Linked DNA regions of Homo sapiens: regions 2, 3, 4, 5, 6 and 7 are each linked to region 1. The links are contacts of gene promoters, found by promoter capture Hi-C in blood cells and fetal thymus (Javierre and others, 2016). All regions are on one chromosome and are shown on one strand. The core of a region is centred on a gene start or on the middle of the fragment in contact, and the rest is flanking DNA. Distances in the headings are between cores, read along the strand shown. Region 1 holds the start of DLEU7-AS1 (DLEU7 antisense RNA 1). Region 2 overlaps DLEU1 (deleted in lymphocytic leukemia 1). Region 3 overlaps DLEU2 (deleted in lymphocytic leukemia 2). Region 4 overlaps DLEU1 (deleted in lymphocytic leukemia 1). Region 5 overlaps DLEU1 (deleted in lymphocytic leukemia 1). Region 6 overlaps DLEU2 (deleted in lymphocytic leukemia 2). Region 7 overlaps DLEU1 (deleted in lymphocytic leukemia 1).

The links. Contacts are between HindIII fragments. The CHiCAGO score rates a contact against its expected background, and 5 or more counts as called.
Region 2: a contact is called between a fragment that was not itself captured here and the fragment with the promoter of DLEU7-AS1 in region 1, in 9 of 17 cell types (endothelial precursors, naive B cells, monocytes and 6 more). The highest score is 10.3, in endothelial precursors.
Region 3: a fragment that was not itself captured here is called in contact with the fragment with the promoter of DLEU7-AS1 in region 1 in 7 of 17 cell types (total B cells, fetal thymus, naive B cells and 4 more); the score reaches 10.1 in total B cells.
Region 4: a fragment that was not itself captured here is called in contact with the fragment with the promoter of DLEU7-AS1 in region 1 in 6 of 17 cell types (fetal thymus, total B cells, megakaryocytes and 3 more); the score reaches 7.7 in fetal thymus.
Region 5: a fragment that was not itself captured here is called in contact with the fragment with the promoter of DLEU7-AS1 in region 1 in 7 of 17 cell types (total B cells, M0 macrophages, naive B cells and 4 more); the score reaches 6.7 in total B cells.
Region 6: a fragment that was not itself captured here is called in contact with the fragment with the promoter of DLEU7-AS1 in region 1 in 5 of 17 cell types (naive B cells, total B cells, fetal thymus and 2 more); the score reaches 13.7 in naive B cells.
Region 7: a contact is called between a fragment that was not itself captured here and the fragment with the promoter of DLEU7-AS1 in region 1, in 1 of 17 cell types (monocytes). The highest score is 5.2, in monocytes.

The regions. Positions count from the first base shown.
Region 1 is chr13:50,806,447-50,809,794 of GRCh38, reverse strand. DLEU7-AS1 (DLEU7 antisense RNA 1) reads right to left here and starts at 1,940. Exons shown (of 5, transcript NR_046551.1): 1 at 1,809-1,940; 2 at 1,089-1,255. It also overlaps a transcript of DLEU7 not described here. The HindIII fragment of the contact is 1,259 bases long and covers 735-1,993 here.
Region 2 is chr13:50,156,002-50,159,007 of GRCh38, reverse strand. The region is part of intron 2 of DLEU1 (deleted in lymphocytic leukemia 1); the gene reads right to left. Among named protein-coding and RNA genes, the nearest start is that of DLEU2, 32 kb to the right of the region's middle. The HindIII fragment of the contact is 2,044 bases long and covers 524-2,567 here.
Region 3 is chr13:50,096,416-50,099,462 of GRCh38, reverse strand. The region is part of intron 1 of DLEU2 (deleted in lymphocytic leukemia 2); the gene reads left to right. The region is part of intron 2 of DLEU1 (deleted in lymphocytic leukemia 1); the gene reads right to left. It also overlaps the pseudogene RPL18P10. Among named protein-coding and RNA genes, the nearest start is that of DLEU1, 16 kb to the right of the region's middle. The HindIII fragment of the contact is 2,880 bases long and covers 1-2,807 here.
Region 4 is chr13:50,138,928-50,141,822 of GRCh38, reverse strand. All of the region lies in intron 2 of DLEU1 (deleted in lymphocytic leukemia 1), which reads right to left. Among named protein-coding and RNA genes, the nearest start is that of DLEU2, 15 kb to the right of the region's middle. RefSeq lists an enhancer at 266-939. The HindIII fragment of the contact is 7,969 bases long and covers 1-2,895 here.
Region 5 is chr13:50,189,316-50,192,326 of GRCh38, reverse strand. The region is part of intron 2 of DLEU1 (deleted in lymphocytic leukemia 1); the gene reads right to left. Among named protein-coding and RNA genes, the nearest start is that of DLEU2, 65 kb to the right of the region's middle. The HindIII fragment of the contact is 223 bases long and covers 1,319-1,541 here.
Region 6 is chr13:50,068,863-50,071,729 of GRCh38, reverse strand. DLEU2 (deleted in lymphocytic leukemia 2) reads left to right here. Exons shown (of 14, transcript NR_152566.1): 3 at 101-214; 4 at 1,089-1,148. Among named protein-coding and RNA genes, the nearest start is that of DLEU1, 12 kb to the left of the region's middle. The HindIII fragment of the contact is 354 bases long and covers 1,280-1,633 here.
Region 7 is chr13:50,208,992-50,212,208 of GRCh38, reverse strand. All of the region lies in intron 2 of DLEU1 (deleted in lymphocytic leukemia 1), which reads right to left. Among named protein-coding and RNA genes, the nearest start is that of DLEU2, 85 kb to the right of the region's middle. The HindIII fragment of the contact is 2,423 bases long and covers 160-2,582 here.

The DNA of each region.
Region 1 (3,348 bases), core at 691-3,190:
CACTTAAGGAGAACTTTCTCCTGGCATTTGGGGAGAACTTTTCAAGTCAGACCTCCTAATTAGGAACAATCATTGTGCACTGGATCCACCAAAAAGAAAAAAGTGTTTTTGGCCTGGTTAAGTGTTTCCATCTTGGGTTACAGCCTTCATCTAAAGCAGCTTCTCCCTTGGCCTGAATGGGCTTTTCCGTGGAGACAGAAGGTAAGATTGCATGCTGGCTGACCCAACAGAGATCCAGAACAAACTCTCAGGAAATCTCAACCCCTCAGGCAGTTGAATTCTCACTCCTCTGAGACCAGCTGAGGTTATTTTACTTCATTTAACTAGCCAGATGATAGGTTGACTGATGGGGCCATTATGTCCGGCGTCAAGTAATTTTAGAATGAAAATTATGCAATAGGTTAGACCACAGCTCAATTTTTATCACCCCAATTGCATACAACGTCCCTAATGTGATTGCCTTTGGGCTAAGATGGAAAGAAATGTTCAGTCCCAAAGTGGCTATATTTTCTGGAATAGATTGAGTGAAACGTCTCTTTTTTTCAACCAAAACACATGGAAATAAATTTCTTCGGTTTTACTTTCTAAATATCTGGTACAAGGTAAAAACTGCAGTGATTAATATGTCCTATGGGGCTGCCGGTTGGTGAGGAAAGGTTGTCAAACTTTAGATAACTCCACCAAGTTGCTATTATCATTTTTAGGCCTGGGTCAGTCAAGTAGGTAGACAAGCTTCTTGACATGTGGAATTGACTGGGACACTGGTAATTGATCCTATTTAAGAAAATGTCCTCAACGCAATGATTTTGCTTAAGTACCTTCTTATTTTAAATGTACCCCAGGACACCATAGTTGTTTCTCTCTGTGGCTTTTTAATTTCCCTTTTTGTTCCAACTGACCTTTCTAAGTTTTTTTTTTTCCTTCTGAAATAAAGAATTCTAAACTCATGATTTTACAGAAAAGCTCAGTTTGCAAGAATATCAGCAATTTCTTATTTAAATATCTTCTACTATACCCAATTGCTAGAGCATAACTCTTGGCTCCTAAACCCAATTTATAAATCAGTCATCCTTTCCACCCCTACTCACCCCAAATTTGTTCTTCTTCCTGGTGTTGCTGTCTTATTTCTTGGCACCCTCATCTACTCAACAGCAGCAGAAGAAAAGAAGAAACTTCATAGTTGGAGGATCTTCCTTCTATCTATTTATTCATCCATTCACTCAACACATATCTGTGTCAGATACTGCTCCAGGTACTAGAGACAAGCATGTACAGGACAGATATGGAACTCTGTTCTCACAGTGATTATACAGCGATTATATTCAAGTACATTTCTTCTAGAAACACTTGGTACTTCTTGCAGGGACCCCCAACCTCATATAAGTATATATACTTAAATATGTCTAACAGATCTTGATATATTACATATTTAAGTAAATAATGATAGAAAATGAATATTCTTACATGGATGCCCCAATTTCTTTCAGCTGCCTCAGATACTCACTGGATAGTGATAGCCAATGATATGCCAGACTTGATATTGATTGATAATGTTATGGCCCCACCAGGGAAGGTTAGAAGAATGGAAGCTGCTTATTTCAAATTTGAATGAGCAATCAAACATTCCTGTTCTGATTAATGTTTTTTTGCCTTGATGCACATATAAGAACTGGGACTAGCAGAAAGGGTTTAGCTTAGGACTGTGGAGAAATGCTTTTCTTCATTTCTGATAAAGCTCCATTTGCTGTTTGATCCTGTCTTCTTGATCTCCCAAGTTCCTGATAAGTCTACAAAGCTAAAACACTCACAGTTTGATCATTAGTAGTGTAGATCTTCCTCTCATTCAATGGAAGTCTTCTCTTGGAGGTCAGCAGTAAATGTCTCATTGCCGTGACCCACTGGTCAGTCCTTATGCCTCTTCATCTTTGCACATGCTGATCCCTTTCTCAGAAAGAAAGTCCCTTTAGCCAGGCATCATCTCCTTTGAGAAGCTTTCGCTGACCTCAGACTGGAGAACTCTATTATAGCATTTGACACTCCCCACAAAGGGGAGAACAGTAAGTTGCAGTCTGATGAAGTCATATGATGCCCGGGCTGGCTTATGAGTAAAGAGGTGAGAAGGTCTCCTACTGAAACAGATTTTCCCTCTTTCTTCCCCTTACAATAGCCTTTCAAAGTTCTTGAAATGTCCATTAAGGAATTCCTATACTTTACTTTTGATTTCACAATTTCTCAGTCAAAAGCTCAATATCATTGCATAGGATAATACATTACCTTAAAAAAAAAAACACCAAAAAAACCTCAACACTCAAAGATTAAATTTGTGTTTGGAAAAGGCTTTATAGGCAGTGGTACCTGGAAACTGGTGCTTGAGAGAAGCAGGAGGAGGGAGGGGAGATGTCAAATACCATCTTTTAAAAAATTTGTTTGTTTTTGATGACCATCTTTAAGAGATTTTTAAATGCCATGTATGAATTCAAGAAAGAGAATAAAGCAGGATTCTAAGAAATAATAGAAAGCTTCTTAAGGAAGCCGGTATAGTATCATTTTATATCTCTGATATTTCTGCTCATCTACTAAAGCTCATTAAAACCTATTAATGATTAGGAAATACTTATGTTTTATGAAATGTATAAAAAAATTTAAAGATAACAATCTAAACTCTCTTTAAAAATTAATTTTTATATATATCTTAACACCATTTAACACACTTAATTTTAGTACTTCTTTACTAAAGTTTGCGGAGGCAGACTACTCTTAAAAGTAGGAAAAAAAAAGGCAGAGGAGCAGACCGACTTTTTTTTTTTTTTTTTTTTTTGAGAGGGAGTCTAGCTCTGTCACCCAGGCTAGAGTGCAGTGAGTCTAGCTCTGTCACCCAGGCTGGAGTGCAATGGTGCGATCTCTGCTCATTGCAACCTCCACTTCCCAGGCTCAAGCAATTCTCCTGCCTCAGCCTCCCGAGTAGCTGGGATTACAGACTTCTGAAATTCTGAATAGTATAAATACAACTGGAATTACACTTTATTTTTAAATATACATTTCTAGGTAAAAACATAATTAAAGATCAAATAATTTTGGTTAAATTTTAAAATAAGCCCAATATGTAACTAAATAAGTCTTAGCAGAAAAATGTGAGGATAAAGTTGAGATTGCTCCTATTTTTTAATATTTATAGCATTTATTTATTTGTAATTACTTGTGAAGTTTCAAGTATTAAATATTACTCCGAGCTGTCTAATATGAGTCAGAATTTAGGGCAATAGAAAATATAAAACAAATTTTTCCTTACTAATACATGTTTTTTAAAAAGTTGTGTTTATGTTCTTCATTGAGAACTAAATAATCACT
Region 2 (3,006 bases), core at 296-2,795, 650 kb after region 1:
CCGGAATGACACCAATGGGGGAAATTTCAGACCTTAATGTGAATTGGCTAGAGGAGAAATTTGGGGACCTGAAAGAGAAACTGCTCTCAGTCATATCTCCTTAATTTTCTGTCAACCCTTTTTCAACCAGTGACTGACCTGGGTCTTTTCTAGATCCATTTCAGCAAGCCTACTTAACCACCGTATAAGAACATAACCCATAAAACACCCTCAAATTCCCAACAGAAGCTAAGGTAGCTGAAAAAAGAAGTACCTGATTTCCATGGGCACATGTTAAGTGGAAAAGTTTGCTCCCTTCACCCAAAAAAAATCTTGCCTCTGCAAGCACTAGCCTGGTACCTTCCAGAAGGTGAATAAATTAACTTGCCAATACCACTTAAGGCAAATGGCTTAATGTTTTCACCAGATCTGACCAGGCCCCAACAACAAGGAGTGGGTGGAGATGAGCGTGTATTTTCATTTATTTCACGAGCCCTATTCTCTGTGGACTTGTAGTTTCTAAACCTAGGTACAAAAAAAAGCTTTAACTGCATGAGTAACTTTTGTTTTGTGGTACATTATTGTTCACTTTCAATAATGTAACTCAAAAATGACTTATAGGATTACAAGAATATGGTATAAAATTTCTAATACAATTCAATGACCCTTAAGCAAAAACATGATCACCATCAACTGAAGTTATCCTATACAATGGCAGGAAACTGTCAAGCCCAATTATGTGAAAATGCAAGAGAAATGTTTAGACAAGCTCCTCACCAAGACTTTCCATTGCTCATACAATAGAGGAGGATTAAGATCAAAACTATAATATTATATCAGTTTTATGATTATAAAATATGCTATTCAAGTTAGTTCAACGTAGCATTGTCTGTCCTAGTACATATATTAGGATAACATTATAATGTATTTCTAAGAGGCAAATCACAGAAGCCACTTACCAATCAAAATGTGTAACTCCAGGTGAAGCTAGACAAAATTATTGATACAAATTTTCTCCAGAAGAGTGATTTAGGAATGCAAAATACTCTAGACACACCACCCATCCACAGTTGGTGTGTCTTGCTTTATTAGATGCAATCCATTTCCTCAGACACTTGTTCAATTGAGGTCTTGTAAAACTATTAGATTAGCATTGGGCATATAGTAAGTGCACAAAGAAATTTGTTGTTGTTGTTGTTGTTGTTGTTGTTGTTGTTGTTGTTTTGAGACGGAGTCTCGCTCTGTCACCTAGGCTGGAGTGCAGTGACGCGATCTTGGTTCACTACAAGCTCTGCCTCCCGGGTTCACGCCATTCTCCTGCCTCAGCCTCCCGAGTAGCTGGGACTACAAGGGCCTACCCCCGTGCCCAGCTAATTTTTTTTTGTATTTTTAGTAGAGACAGGGTTTCATGAAAGAATGAATGAGTGAATTGTTGGATAGACTAAGTATCTTCAATAAATGCAGAAAATGCCAGTGTAGAACCATATTACACTTTCTTCAAAAATGCTATTCTACTCTGCTTGTTAATTATCTCCTTAAGATAATTTCACTTTTTTAAATGTTTTAAGGCATTTGTTTTACTAGCAATGAATTAAATGTTAGTTAAGAATCTGCACGTCTAATCCATTTAGATATAGCATGTATTTTCTTCCTAGTTCATACATCTCATAAAATGCAAAAAAAAAGTATAATCCTGCTAGCATAAGTCATTAGCAGACAAAGATAAAAACTCATGAGCTCTGTGTTTTATTTTATCTCACATTCTGCTTCATAGTCCAACCAAGTTTCATAATGAAAATTTTTCTCAGCCGACGCCTCAAATGCTTTATTCTTCAAATACAATTGATTTGACCAATATCGCTGTGGTTTGGAAATGTTTTTCTTCCTGTTGGTCTCTGCCATGATCTCCTCTGGATATAGTTCAATTAGATGCCTTCTCACTTTTTCACAAGTTGCCTGTTATTGTAAAAGTTTGGGAAAACTTTGAAAAAGAACTATAAAACGTTTTCACTGTCAATAGAAAAAAATGGATTGCTTGAGCCAGACACAGCTCCCCATAGAGCTAACCTTTTGATCCTGGAATCCTTTCATGCGCTTAAGTCTTCACTAGCGTCAATGGGAGTGTTGTGTATGCAAGGGCAGCAGGATCAAGTTCAGTCTCTTCTTTAGTACTCTGTAGCCAAGTGGGGTAGCCAGCTGAATCTGGTTTAGTTAAAAAAAAAAAAAAAAAAAAAAAAACACAACACTTTCCTGATGCTTTGAAGTTTTTTGGGCAGTGTAATAATATCAGGATTTGTAGGACGTTATTTTGCATAATCCTTAATAAGATATTCTTATGGCTTCAAAAAGTTAGTGGGTTAAGAGAAGCAAGAACCTCCAGCACTCATAGGAAATATTTTTTTAAGTTCTGGGTAGAAATGGCTCAAAATGCATCTCGGGAAGATACATAATTATAAGACTGTCCAAATGTGTGTTCAGGCAGGAATGCACCTAAAACTATTCTTCATAGATGGATTTCTACTCTATCTTTAAAAGATAGAGATATAATATAATAATCTCTCAAAAGCTCTGATGAAAACAAAGAAGCTTGCTGGAGGATTCTACTATGTGTGTGGATTAAGTAACTCTGTGACTAATCCAACTATTTGAATCAAAACAAGGCATTCCTTTAGAATCTTTATCACTCTAACCTCACACTCACTCACTGATGAGGACTTTTTTCCAGGCAAGGTCAAAGGGCTGACCAAGGTGATTCTGCACCACCAAATAGAAAGGAGGCTGGAGAAGGGAGAAGTGCAGCGGCAGGATACAGAAGCCACAAAATCTCTCTGCTGGAAGCCAGTTCACCTTATTATTACCAAGAAACTGAGGTTCACTTTCTGGCATTTTGGCCTGAGCATTAAAATTTTAAATTAACACCATTGAACACAACCTACTCTTTTTTTTAATGAGCATTTTATTGTCACTTTGTGGAAGGGTACTGAAACCTCTGATTTAGTATAATCATATGATTATGATTTATTCATA
Region 3 (3,047 bases), core at 118-2,617, 710 kb after region 1:
AACTTGGTTGAAGGTAGAGTTTCTTCTGGCCAGAAACATATACAGCTTAACCAACAGCCTTCAGTAGATGTCCTGGCTCTTGGGTTCCTGGTGTTGAACCTTTCAGTCATTGTTGTGGCAGGAGTCAACTTCCGTGATGGTGCCTCCTGTTCATCCAGGTCCAAAAGCAGTCTTGCTTTTTATCTGACAATCTTTGCCTTTTAAGTGGGATATTTAGATAATATGCATTTAATGTGATTGCTGATATGATTACAGTCTATTGCCTTGCCATTTTTCTATTAGTTTCACTACTTATTTGTTCCTTTTTCCACCTTCTTTTGGGTTGAGTATTTTTTTGTGATTCTATCTTATCTCCTTTGTTGACTTATTAGCTATAACTGTTTTGTTATTCTACTGGTTGCCCTAGGGCAGTATACATCTTCACCCTACCACAGTCTACCTTCAGTCTACCTGATGGTAAAGAGTTGTTTTCGTATGTCTGAAAACATCTTTATTTTGCCTTTGTTTTTTGAATGATATTTTGCTGAGGTTAACATTTTTTTCTTTCAGTACTTTATGTTCTACTGTCTCTTCACTTGCAATGTTTCTAATGAGAAATCTGCTGTCAACCTTATCTTTGTTACTCTATAACATGTGGCTGTTTTCCATATTTTTTATAATTGGCTTTGAATAATTTGATTATGACATTCCTTGGTGTAGTTTTCTTCTTGTTGAGCTTCTTGGATCTGTGAGTTAATAGTTTTTGTCCAATTTGAAAATTCTGGCCATTACTTTTTCAAATATCCCTTTTGTATCTGCCTCTCCTCTCCTTTGATGCCTCTGATTATGTTTACATAAGGATTCTGTAAGTTTGTCCCATAGCTCACTGATGCTTTTGTCATTCTTTTTTCTCTTTCATTTTTGAGTAGTTTCTTTTGCTATATCCTTCAAGTTCACTAACCTTTTCTTCTGCCATGTCTAATCTGCTACAAATACCATTAGTAGATCTCAGATATTGTAGTTTTCATCCCTAGAACTGCATTGAGTTTTTAAAAATGTCTTTCATGTCTCTACTTTCTGAAAATATAGAATATAGCTATAATAATGTTCAATGTCTTTACTAGTTCTAACATCTTTCTCTGCTTAAGGTCACTTTCAGATGATTGATTGTTTTCATCATTGTGGATTATTTTTTCTGGCTTCTTTGTGTGCCTGGCAAGGCATTGTGAATTTTATCTGTTGGCTGCTGGATAGTCTTCTGTTCCTCTAAATGTTCCTGAGTTTTGTCCTGGGATGCAGTTAAGTTACTTGGGAAAGTTTGATTCTTTGGGTCTTATTCTTGTGATTTGTCAAGGAGTGCTCAGTCTATAGCTCATTACATAAGGAATAATAATGCAATATAGCTAAATAATATACTTCAAGGCAATCTTTAAGTTTACACTTAAGTCTAATCTTAAAAGACTGCAAAAGACTTACTAAATGATCTTAGCAACAAATTTAATCCTCTAATAAAAAACATGAAAATAATAATTTCTGAAAAAAATATTCACTTTCATTAAAAACTGCAAAGCACTAGAAAGAAAAAGTGAGAGGGAGAGAAACTGAGAACAGTGGGTACTTCACAGATTAATTTTGTGAGTAAAGATGACTTCTGTTTAAGAATTGGTCTCTACTATATGAATGTATTTCATTCTGAGGATAATGGTTAAAAACAGAGACATTAGGGGCAGACAGACTTGGATGCACATCAGACTCCTCCACACATTATAACTCAACATGTATAAGCCTCAATTATCTCATCTATAAAATGCCATGTTCTTTTACAGGGTAATCTAAAAGAACAAAAACTGTTAATTTCACCAACTAAAATATACAGAAAAAAAAGGAACTTAACTATTCCCTGATAAGCAAGCAAACTATACATCTAAATTATACATCCAAATATTCTCCCCTTTTCTGGCTCCCTCACAATTTTCAAACGGTTTTGAATGAATCAACAAACATTCACAATTTTAAAAAACACATCTCTAGTGAGACTGTATGATTCAAACCCTATACACATATTATCCTTGCTTTTTTCCTTTTGATACAGCTATTATTCTATCTATATCAGGTTAGTAACACTTAATTCTAGAGGCCCATAATTTTTCATTTGAATATAAAAGATAATGGTATCTCAAATAGATTCCAATGCTAAAATTAAATTCCATGTAACTCTTTACGTACAGACAGCATACTGTTGAATAGAAGCAGTCCAAAGTGAATTACTGCTTGAACCCACAACTGACAACATAAGCCCATTATTCTTGAACAAATCTTACTTGAAAAAATCAGGTTAAATCATTTCCATTCCTAAAGCATGTATTAGCTTTTATGGCCAAATATGACTTTTTCAAGAAGACAGTACAAAAGCTGTATGAATCCCTTTTGTTTTATTCTACCAATCGCCTGTTTCAGCATTGTTACGTATTAGCAATTTTTGTTTTGCCTAATAACTGGAACTGAAAACTTACCAAACAAAATAAACTGGGGTCACTCTGTAAATCTTGACTTGGTTTTAGGTTTTTAAAAAGTAATGCAACTCATAATTTGGTAAGCATATTAGAATACCACTAGATAGGAATCTTCAATAATTAGAAATCAAGAACTTCTGCTAATTCATTTTTGTGACCTACACTCTTTTCTACCAATGAAGGCTTCATTTCAGAAGTATTGATTTGCTTATTTTTACTCCAGTTTTTTCATATTCCAGCAGCCTTTTTCATGTATCCTATCTATTCCTTTCTAAAATTCTGTTGTTCTGATCTCTGAGCTTTATGTCCCAAGCTTGAGAAACAACAACAAAAAACTCTAATAGTCTACTTTGTATCTTGAAGAGTACTAAAATATTCTTAACCTTTTAATTCTGAGAACTGGGGTGGTTGGGAGTTACCCCCAAAAAAGGTAAGAAGAAGAAGAAAGGAAAGGTGAAGGGAAGGAGAGAGGGAGGGAGAAAAAAGAGACCGTTCTTAGGATGGCTTAAAGTGGTTTTGTGGGGGCAGGTAGGAGTAAGTCTTATCTCTTGTTAT
Region 4 (2,895 bases), core at 44-2,543, 670 kb after region 1:
GGAAGAGAATGGAGAAAGAAAGGGAAGTCTCATGACTTCTGAAGTTGAAAGAGGAATTATGTTCTGAAAAGGAGAAAGAAGATGACAGTTTTGCTTAATTCAAATATTGAGTAAATATTGTTGCTTAATCATTTTTTAAAAGAAACATTAGTGGCTATTTTTTTGGCACAACTGTTTTTAAATTTAATTTATAAGGATGACACCATGATGTAATTGAAACTTGTATCACACACAAAAATCACTTTGCCCCTCACGCATAACAACATCCTGCTCCCCCAAACCCAAATCATACCTTTCATAATACGGCCTTAACCTGTGTCCTTAAATACAAAGCAACCTAAATGCTAAAGTGAAGAGCCTAACACAGCTAAACTGGGAAAAACATGAGGTGGAAATGTATCTCCCTTGGAAAAGTAAGTAAAATGTATGTTAAGGAAATGGGTAATTCAGGGAACCCAAATATTCAAACAAATTCCCAGATGTTTGTGCTGCTGTCTGAACGTTTTAAAGAGGAAACAGCTTTTCATTACTTCATGAATCCTCCCTCATTGTGAAGACGATTTCAAAGCCTCCAGCATTTAAAAGGGAAAGTCCGTTCTCAGAGTCGTCGGATTCCCGCTGTGTCTCAGGCACCACAATGTTCCAGAAACTCACGGAAAAAGCTCAGGCCTGTAAACATGTCTGATCTGGATCTCCCACTCCTAAGTCTGTGTTTATATATTGATAATTAAGATGGATTTATGAAGCTCAAATAATATCACATTTCATATTTCTCTAATCAGTATCTCAAAACAATTCAAACAACAGTTATTTTAACATTAACAGCATGGGGAGGACAGCCACGAATCCCCACACCTTCCCCTGGCCATCACATGCTTGCACCGGGAAGTTGTAACTAGCTCTGGCAGTGCCAATGAACAAACGCGGTTAAAAATCAAGCAGAAAACGGCTGAATGTGCACGCTCAGCTACATGATTTTCACTGTCTAAAACTGGGAAAAAAAATCTCAAACAATTTTCACCCAATTTGGCTTGCCTTTCTCGTCTGTAAATTGCAATACTGCCAAGTTACAAGTAAAATATTCTGCCAATTTCTCAGTTTTGTGAGCAAAGAAAAAAAAGAAAGCATACTTTCCCTAATGGAATAAAGTGTGTGTCTCTGTGTTTGTGTGTGTCTGTGTGTGTGTGTGTGTGTGTGTATTTATATTTGATTAATTCAACATCATATGGGACTCCTGTCCAAATTTTTCAAAATACACATACACACACATACTTTGTGTCAGATCATGAAAAGTAAATCTCAAATCCAGATTGAACTCAGAGGGACTAGGAGAAATATTGTTTGTACCTCACTTTCTACTATTGTGCAAGTTAGATAGGATCTACCACTCTTCTAGATCTTTATTCTAACATGACTCATATCACAAATGTGATCGAGTGACTAGTTTTAGCCTCCACAAAAATGAATTTAACTTCTAGAAAAGGTCCCCAAAGCAAATTGACAGCCAAAGACAGTTTCAATTCAGAAGTGCTGGTAGTCATGGTGGTAGAGGTTCTAGGGTAATGTCTCATTGAGATGCGAGGATGAGGCTCTGAACTCAGGAAGGAAACACTCAAAATGTCCTGCAGGCATTATGAACAGCAGCCACTGAATCCACTAATATCCTTCCTCAGACTTCACTGCTTTTTAAAGACAGCAAAATATTGAGATAGATTTTTAATTGTAAATTCTGAAAAACAGCCACACCCAAGACTTTAATACCTCTCTTTCTTCTCAAAGTTAGGAAAGTGGTATGCTCAGTGTCAAATAACTAATGCTCATTAAAAATGGTCAGAATGCCGTTGCAGATGAAAAGTGAAGCTCTGGTGTGTGAAACAAGAACCCAAATGCATTGTCCACAATGTCTACTTCAGTACAGCCATTCTAGAATTTGCCCATGTGCATCAAAAGCCTTAAAAAGTAGCATGCCGTCCAGGCACAATGGCTCACACCTGTAATCCAGCACTTTGGGAGGCTAAGGCGGGCAGATCACTTGAGCCCAGGAGTTTGAGACCAGCCTGGGCAACATGGTGAGACCCCCATCTCTACAAAAAATGCAAAAATAGCAGTGTGTGGTGGCGCATGCCTGTGGTCTCAGCTACTCTGGAGACTGAGGTGAGAAGATCACCTGAGCCCAGGAGGTTGAGGCTGCAGTGAGCTGTGATCACACTCCACTGCACCCCAGACTGGGCAACAGAGTGAGACCCTGTCTAAAAAAAAAAAAGTAGCATGCCATTGTACCCCATAAATAGATACGCCTACTGTGTATGTACCCACAACAATTAAAAATAAAAATAAAAAAATAAGTAGCATGCCATAAATACTAAACAGACACACACTCAGACTACAGGATACTCAATGTAGCACTATTCATAATAGAAAAAAGAGGGGAAATAAGTCAAACTTTCAACAATAAGAACATGTGCCGTAAAACTTAAAGTGTAATAATAATAAAATAAAATAAAATAAAAAATTTAAAAAATAAATAAATAAATAATAAATAAAAGAAATTTGTTAGACAAAATGTGGTACATTCTTCCATCGGTGATGATACAGAAATTTAAAAATCATGTTCTAGAACAATATTTAACAACATAAAATATTTGCATATATTATGTAGTCATAAAAGCAAGTTAAAACATATTTGGATGTTATATATGTTATCCTGCTTCATAAAGACATGAACGGAGGGATAGACATCAATGACAGCATTATCTCTGGGTGATGGCAGGGAAAGTAAATTTTATTTCCTTCGTTAGGTTTTCCTGTATTTTCCAAACTTTCTACAATGACAATACATTATTTATATAATTAGATGAATAATTTTATTTTTAAAATTAGCCGTGTGTGATCCTT
Region 5 (3,011 bases), core at 181-2,680, 620 kb after region 1:
TGCAGGAAGAGCCTGGGAAGTGTCTCTCATATCTAAGGCAGAATGCTACCAGGGGTACAAACGAGTAGGGCCTGGACATCTTAGCTGCTGCTGGACCTCCAGGTCCCACCGGCCATCATGCTGACTGAACAGCCACTGTAAGAACAGGAAATGGGGTACAGACAATGAAGTCCAATGTTAAAGAGGTTTCCCTGTCCAGGAAAACAAAGGAACAATAGACTCCTACGCTTAATATTTTAAGAGTTTTGTGGTGCTTTCTGAGGACCTGAGGCCCACTTGCTCTTCCCTTAGGACATAGCTCATGTTTCATAAAGCTGGGGCGAGCAGTAGGACTGAGAAGAAAAGTGAGAAGATTCCTCCTTCCCTGCCTCTAATGAACAAACCTTGGGACTAGCAAAGGTTAATTACTTGCCTGATCCAGGCTTATTCCTTGAAAAGGAGCTGAATGACTAAACATTTGTGAACATTGAGTCGCACAGCCCATCAGCAAATGGAGCCTGCCCTACTCTAACCAGGCACATGACCATCACCTGGCCAATGGACTAATTGTAGGACTGATGCTGGATTCAGAAAAAAAGCAAGTCAGAGCTGTTCAGGAGGCTACAGGGGCTGGGGGAGTGAGAATTACAACTAAACAGGACTTAAATGTAAAATTAAAAGTTCCATGTTAGCTTTTCTGAAATAAAATATAAGTCTTTTACTTGAATAAGCTGAATAAATGCAAATGATATCAGGCAGAAAAGATCTGAGATTTGTCTATCCACTGCAAAAATTACACATGTGAATTGTTTATTCTTCTAGTGAAACATATCTAATGCTTTTCCCCTCTCATAATATTAACTTGTTTAAAGAACATTTATACGATAACATCTTGAGTTCTTTGTTTTCTAGGTTTCTCAACCAAAGTTCTCTTCTTGAAGTCTTTGTGAAAAAAAAAAATTGCTGCCTCTTTAAACTAGTGCTCAGGCATGAAAATGTTTAACTAATTTCATTTTCTTGATAAAGTTTATCTGTGATCAGAATTGAGTCATACCAAAAATACTTCTATAAGATTTGACCTTTTACTTAAATCCCACATCGAGATAATATACTCAAAATGGTTATCAATAAGACCTTTGTTTTTTAAAGCACATCTAAAATAAATCACTTTTTAAAAGCAGAAAACTGTTTTCAATTAAGTCTTTTACAGGCAATCAGCTTGAAAGTTATACTTGCCCTTGTATTTTTTATGTATATAAATTATGCCCAAGAGTGCCATGATAGCAGCATTATGCTAACTATGCCTTACCTTTGTATTTACTTCTTGTCAAAATAAGCTTTACAAATTAATTGGTTTTAGAGTGCTTTATGACCAATAATGACTGCATTATACTAGTGCCAGAGTAAAAGCAATGCAAGCAGCAACTACTTTTTCTTGTTATTGAGAAACACCTAGTCTAATTAGATAAGGATAATTAATTCTTAATTTCTTCTGATGAAGAGTTTTCTTGCAGTAGAACAACTTTACCCCATTCCAACAATGTTTATCATTTAGAAAAGCTTTAAAGAGACTTCTGCTTGAGTCTCTGACCCAAGTAATCCTGTGATACCTACACAGGGCTAACTACTAGTCTTGGCCTCCTGTATGTTTTAACCACCTCACCCTTTCATCAATGAATCCTATCTGCTCTTCAGATGCTGGGAGCATACTAGATAAGTAGATAATTTTAAAAGTATCCATTCAAAAATAGGCATTTCATGCCTATAATCCCAGCATTTTGAGAGGTTGAGGCAGGAGGATTGCTTGAGCCCAGGAGTTTGAAATGCCTGGACAACACAGCAAGATCATGTCTCTGGCTTTAAAAAAAAAAAAAAAGGCATTTCTCTTATTTTTTAAGTTTCCCATTTTTCCCCATTTGCTTTCGCCCTAGATCCCATCCATGTCAGTGGCTGCTTTTATTAGTGGCAGATTTTGCATTTTCCTTAGAGATTTACTAAGAATATCCTAGAGGAGCAAAATTCAGAACTAAACAAGAAAAAAAGAACAAAATCCAGGAATACAATAATTATATATATATTTTAATCTAAATTACTATATAATGAGTTTGCTGCTTCTAAAATTAGTGATAAGGGGCAGTTTTTTAAAAATTAGATCAAGGTTGGAAGAGATGTTTACCCAAAGGACCTAGAGATGAGAGAAGAGTCAGCGTTTGGAAAAAGCTGAGAATCTCATTAGCCCAAAGGGGTGAGTACAAGGCAGGAAAGGAAAAGCAAAGCTGAACTTTGAGAAGTTGGATAGATAGGAGCAAAGAGCAGTCCAGGATAGGGTCTCGAACAACTAGGACACCCTTTTCCAGTCCCCAACCACATAGAGGAAGGGGAAGAAGAGAAGAACAGTGACCAAGCTGAAAGTCTGAATTGAACGCACAAAAAACAGCAATAAGAATGACCATAGACTTCAGGTAAAGCCATTCTTCCTCTCAAGTCTTTCTTTTGGACCAGTTACTGGGCCCAAGATCTCTGAGAAGTTTTGCCACAGAAGTAACATCAGTACAACATGTTAGCATCCCGGTTAACTGGATTAAGAATATTAGGAGCTACATCTCCAGCCCTCTTGGATAAGCCACCTGCAAATGAAAGAGCCCCATACCTAGAACTTGCCACCCAAAAGATATGTCCCTGTGCTGTGGCCCAAACAGCTCCACCAACTGGACGAACCTATAACTTGTTGACAGCTTTCTCTCTCTGGTTCTCAGATGAGGAATGATGATAAAACAAAACCAAAAGACATCTTACTGAGGAAGATCAGCTCCAGTGGATTTCTCTGAGACAACCCAAGTTAGATGGAGCTAATGGGAAAAAACACAGGAATTCTTTAAACTATCATTCAAGCAAAACATCTCTCCTAACTGTTCCTTTTAAAGTAGCTAGACCTGTTAGAGATTTTATTGAGTGGATATAAGCACTTTCTACAGAAACATTTTTTTTAAAGTACATCACCTTTTCATAGAACAGAGGAAGAGCTGTCACAT
Region 6 (2,867 bases), core at 207-2,706, 740 kb after region 1:
TATTCTTTTCTCAGCTTGCTGTTTAAGAAGCAGCAGCAGCAACAGCAACAGCAGTGAATAAACAAGTTATCACCACAGCCCTTGTTCTTACCCCTTACAGCTGGGAGCAGAGGCTGGGAGATCGATGCTGCTTGTCAGCTGTTGTGCAGAATAACATCAATATGCAATAATGGTGGCCAAAGGAGCCTGCACCCATCCGTTTTTACAAACCCAGGTGGGAAGAGCCCAACTGTCACTGTACCACATACACAGTATAGAGAATACATTCTTTAGCAGAAAGGTTGCAGCATAAAGAGAACAGTAGATGCTTGTAGTTCTTAGACTCTATTATTTTTTACTATTTCTCTGTGGCTTTAGTTCATTTAATTTTTATTCAGTTAATTCCATCCATTAGAATGGAAAACCTGTCTTGCTTCTGGAGGTATATATAGTATGTTTCATGTATATATGGTATGTTTCATGTTTTCACTTTTAAGCAGGTAGACTGAAAAAAATTATAATTAGTTGCTGATATCACAAGTTAGGTAATATATTGAGGATAGAAAAGAAAAGCTGGCTATGGCCACACAGGAGTGTTTCTTTCACTTTTGGACTACATTATCTTTGTTTTATAAAAGCCCAGTCTAACAAGACCGAATTCTTGTTGATTTCACTATAATAAAAGAAAGAAAACAACATTCTATATTAACTTAGTGTTGTAAATAACTAAAAGCAGGCAACAGATGAAAACTTATGTCTTTTTTCTTACTACTAAACTGCTTACTTTTTCTATTTACCATTTCTCACTGAAATATCTTTTATCTGAACTTTTTATCTAGAAAGCTTAGATTATTCTAAATCTTTTGGAAACAGGACTTTGTAATTTCAAATAATATAGAAGAATGTTTTTATTTTTATAATTTGAATTTGCGCCGATTTTTATAACCTAAATATTCTATTTTTTTTCTTCCTTTTACATCTAATTTCAATAGGTTAGAGTTACAGGGAAGTGTGAATGTTGGATTTCTATAAATGTTCTGAATTTATTTGTAGCGGTCTTGGTGGGAAACTACTAATGCCTTTTTTTTTTTTTTTTTTTTTTTTTTTAGTGTATAAAGCCAAATGTCCCATTTAAAGTTTGACATTTGCAATAGCATTCTATTTAAAAGGTAATCATATAGTTGCTTTCTGGTCACCTTCATTAAAATCACTCCTGATCACTCTCACTCTTAATATTTTCCTGTGCCAATCACAGTAAATTCAGAATATTAGTTCCCTGGTAATATTACTAAAAAAAGCTTTGTCATAGTATGTGTCTAGTTATCTGAAAAAATAAATGAGCCCACAACCTTTCTTGGCATTGTGAAGTCAAGCATATTCAGCCATAAATTGAGGTTACTTTTTTGTTGTTGTTGACTAATGCTAGAGGTTTTTAAAAAAAAGTTTATGTAATTTAACAGATAACATATTAATTACTGTTACCTCCCCTAACTAAAACATGAGTTACATAATCCTCTCTATTGAAAGCACCTCATTTTTAATCATTACTTACTGCTTAGTTGCCTGCAAACCACCTGTATGAGAATAACCTAGAATTTAAAAAATAAAATAAAAACATTTTTCCAGACCTGGAATTTGCATTTTTTTACAAGCTTTAAGAGATTTTTCTTAGGAGCACCACATTTGTGAGAAGCACTGCCCAAAATGAACTTGGAGGAGGGATTGTTCATACCCACAAACTATCTACTTTTCCTGCATCTTTTTTTCCCCTCTTTGGTCATCTTGGATCTAAGCTTAATATTTAATTAGGAATCTTATCATTTCTAGATTAAGTTCTTGAATCTTAAATTCGGCTGATTAAAAAATAGATTAAGTCTTGGTATTTCCTCAGTCACATGAGGAAAATCTGTGTTATCAGAGCTTTGTTTTCATGTAAGTGCCTTGGGCCAAATTTCAGTCTATTCTCTTTGTTTGGAACATTAGTATACCTATGTTAAACCAATACTTGATGAAAACCAAAGGAATTGATCACTTATGAATTTTTAAATTTTCATATAGATAGTGGCTGTTTTTCTTAAATATGCTTCCAAATGTTGGAGGAAATATAAAATGAGGAACTCTTCATATGCTGCTTGTGGGAGCATTTAGCAATATCTTTGTAAAGTTGAAGATACAATAGGCTTGAACCCAACAATTTTATTCCTAGATGCTCTAGGTAAACTCAAGACATGTAGAAAAAAGTCTTGGTTATTTTTAATAGGAAAAAAATGAAAGCAATGTAAATGTTAAGCAAGAAGAGAATGGCAAATTGTGACATAGTCATGTGATGAACTGTAAAGCTACTAAAATGAGAGCTGTGTTTATCATCATGGGTGAATATCCTACTTCAGCAAACAAATAAGTTGCATAAAGGTTATATACAGAGTAACGTATATAAAATATGTATGATATTATACCATTTATCAAAAGCTTGAAAGCAATGATAAAGTTTAAATTCTTGAATTGGTAGTAATAGTGTAAAAACATAGGAAATAAATATCAAATTCAAGATTATGCTTGCATCTTTGGAAAGAATGGAATGGAATCAGGGTATAGCTCACAAAGGACATCATCTGTATGTGTAATCAATTTTCATAAAAAACAAAGGGAAGTAAGTATGGCATAGTTTTAGATTTCAGTACAGCTGGATTGGGAGTCCAGAGATAGGATATGGAGGTTCATTTTGGTATTCCCTTGATTTTTCTGTGAATTTTGAAGCAAATGATTTTGAAATTTTTAAAAACATGCTGTTCTTTTTCTGTTAAGATTAGTCTACAATAAAGCGTATACTTGCAGTGCTCTGTTAAGAACATGGATGAATTTGTCATATCCTTTCTATTCTGTATCTT
Region 7 (3,217 bases), core at 122-2,621, 600 kb after region 1:
GTTTTTTTAAAGTTAATGTGTTATGCTTAATTGGATATTTTATTTTATTTTATTCCACGTTTTTGCCTGTGACACAGCCCTCAGGAGATCCTGAGAACATGTGCCCTCAGTCAGATCTTTCTTACACTAGATTCTAGTACAGAAACAAACACCAAAGCTTTAAAAAGTATTGGGAGAAAAGCATACATAATTCTGGGAAAGTGTTTTTCTTAAAATCAAGAAAAGACACTTATTTTTCCAATATTTTAGTGGCAAAACAACTTGGTCTTGCCAGAAGAACATCAGTGTTCTACAGTTCATTTTCTTTCTCTCTCTCTCTTTTTTTTTTTTTTTTTTTGAGACGGAGTCTTGCTCTGTCACCCACGCTGGGGTGCAGTGGCACGATCTTGGTTCACTACAACCTCCGCCTCCTGGGATCAAGCGATTCTCCTGCCTCAGACTCCTGAGTAGCTGGGACTACAGGCGCGTGCCACCACGCCCAGCTAATTTTTGTATTTTTAATAGAGACAGGGTTTCACCATATTGGCCAGGATGGTCTCGATCTCTTGACCTCGTGATCTGCCCGCCTCAACCTCCCAAAGTAATGGGATTACAGGCATGAGCCACCGCGCCTGGCCCTGCAGTTCATTTTAAAGATCATTGTACTGTATGCCATCCTAAAATTCTCCTTCACTTTCCATGACTTAAGGTTCAGGTGAGGTTCAACCCCATCCTGATCTCCAAGGAGATTTGCAGAAAAATAATTTTCTCAGTATTATATGGATCTACAATAAAGTGTACTCTTTGTCATCTGTCATGTCTGTGTCATGTTTCATTTTAGAACAAAGATACCTTAGATTTATAGCCTAGGACATAGCTAATTCCAATATCCTAGGTGTAAACCCTCTTAGTTACTCCATTAGATTCTCTAGTCTCAGACTACTTTCTATACTCTGCCTCTTAACACATGTGTTCAAATTAAACAGAAAAATTCCTGATGTGTTCTTGCCTGGTGGTCCAAATTTTTAAAAATAGAAAAAGAAAAGCCTTATGTGGAGAAAAGAAGCCATTTCCACAGGCATTCTCCTAATATGGCACTAACAAAGGATCCAGGGGCTGAAATATGGCTATATCTAGAGCACCCGTGGATCTCTAGGGGTCTGTAAAGTACTCCCTTACCTCATGGTGCTTGGCACCCAAAGAGGGGCCAAAATGTTTGCTACTCATTCCTGAAGGAAATCCACCGTTGTCACCTGAGGCCTGATGAATCACACATCACACGACTCAGCAATGCACTATGGTTTAAGCTACAACCAACTGCAAAGAAAAGCAACTCCATGTTCTCCATAGAGGAGACAAGGACACAAGGGTCAGACTGATTCTCTGAGGTAAGCTAGGCCCTTTTGGAAGAGCTACTGATTCAGAATTCTGCCAGTATTCAGAAGTTGGAATACAGCTGGTCTCTTAGTCACCGATAAGGGTAGAACAAAAAGAAATGAGTGTAAACTTCACCTAGAGAAATATAAGTTAGACCAAAGGACAAATCTGTGGAAGACTCTCAGCAGGATACAATGCTCATGTGTGTGCCAAGCATTTTTAAATTAGTCAACTGTCCTCACCAGAGGCTGTGGCTAACTAAACATCATATCACCATATCCAGGCTGGGCATGGTGGCTCACGCCTGTAATCCCAGCACTTTGGGAGGCCAAGATGGGCAGACTGCTTGAGGTCAGGAGTTCAAGACAAGCCTGACCAACATGGTGAAACCCTGTCTCTACAAAAAATACAAAAATTAGCCAAGTGCGGTGGTGCACACCTGTAGTCCCAGTTACTTGAGAGGCTGAGGCATGAGAATTGCTTGAACCCAGGAGGCCGAGGTTGCAGTGAGCCGCGATCCTGCCACTGCATTCCAGCTTGGGTGACAGAGTGAGACCCTGTCTCAAAAAAAAAAAAGCATATCACTATATCCAGAAATGGTGATAAATAATATATAAGTAATACCACCATTCAATATATTCTTTAATATATTCTCATACATTCTTAACATATTCTCATATAAGTTGAATTTCAATAATATATTCAAGAATGTATTATTATGCCTTCAAGAATATATTACTGTAACTTCAAGAAAATATTGTTATGACTGGGGAACTAATATAAAAGTCTTGTTCAACCCAAAAATGGTTCCTGGGATATTTCTATACAATGTAAGAATTCAGAAATTTGGTTTTAAATGACTACTGAAATAAACCTTGTGAGGTAAGCAAGCTACATGAAGACAAATAAACCAGTGGGATTTTTTTTAAGTATGTTTATTCAAGTTGGGGAAAAGCCACATAATTCACTATATGTCAAGCCTAAACTTAGATTTTTCATCATCATCTGACAATATGTGGCAAGCACAGTTTTTGCAAAACAGTCAAACTCCCAATCAGTAATAAGGAATCTTTTAACTCAAGGTTGCATATTGTTCTTTGGCTAAAAATAGTAGAAAATCTCAATCCTTTAAATACAGAATAATCTCTCTGATCTCTCTAACTTATTTTACTTCCTGTGATCACATAATACTGAATATCTATTACGTGCCTAGTATGTGGAAAGCTTTTCTCAGCATCAAACCAAAATTTTAAATATCAAGAAAAAACAAAAAACCCTCTTAAAACTTTTTACGCTCTAAGAGGGAAGAGAAATAAAAAATAAACAAATTTTAAAAAGACTTTTTAACTCTTTAGCATGTTTTGAAAATCACATTATACGTTTTAGCATGATGTTATTAACTAATTTGTATGTATTTGTTCCCTGTCATAGTTAGTAGGAATATTTTCTCAAACTTCTGAGAATATTTAAAATCCATATTCAAATGATTTTTTTAGGAGCCTAAGACTTTACAAGAACACATTTTAGAACTGACTCTAGTCACCACAAACAAATTCAGTGATGTGTACACGCGCATGCATGAATACATACAACAGTTATGCTCCAGACACCACTCACTCTCCACAACTCCTCACTCCTCGACCTTCTACCCCCAGCCCCCTGCCCCTGGGGACGCCTGATCTCCAGTCTGGGAAAGGAAAGTGCCTCCTCCACATCCTCTCCCAGGGTCTCTCCCCAGACCTGAGTCGGTGGGGAGAAATGCTGACTCACAGACACAGCCGGTTAGCAGCTCTCACTTCCCCAGCCCTGCTGAGCTGAGCAACCCCAGGGAGCGTGGAGAAATTGTTGGTACACTCTCCAG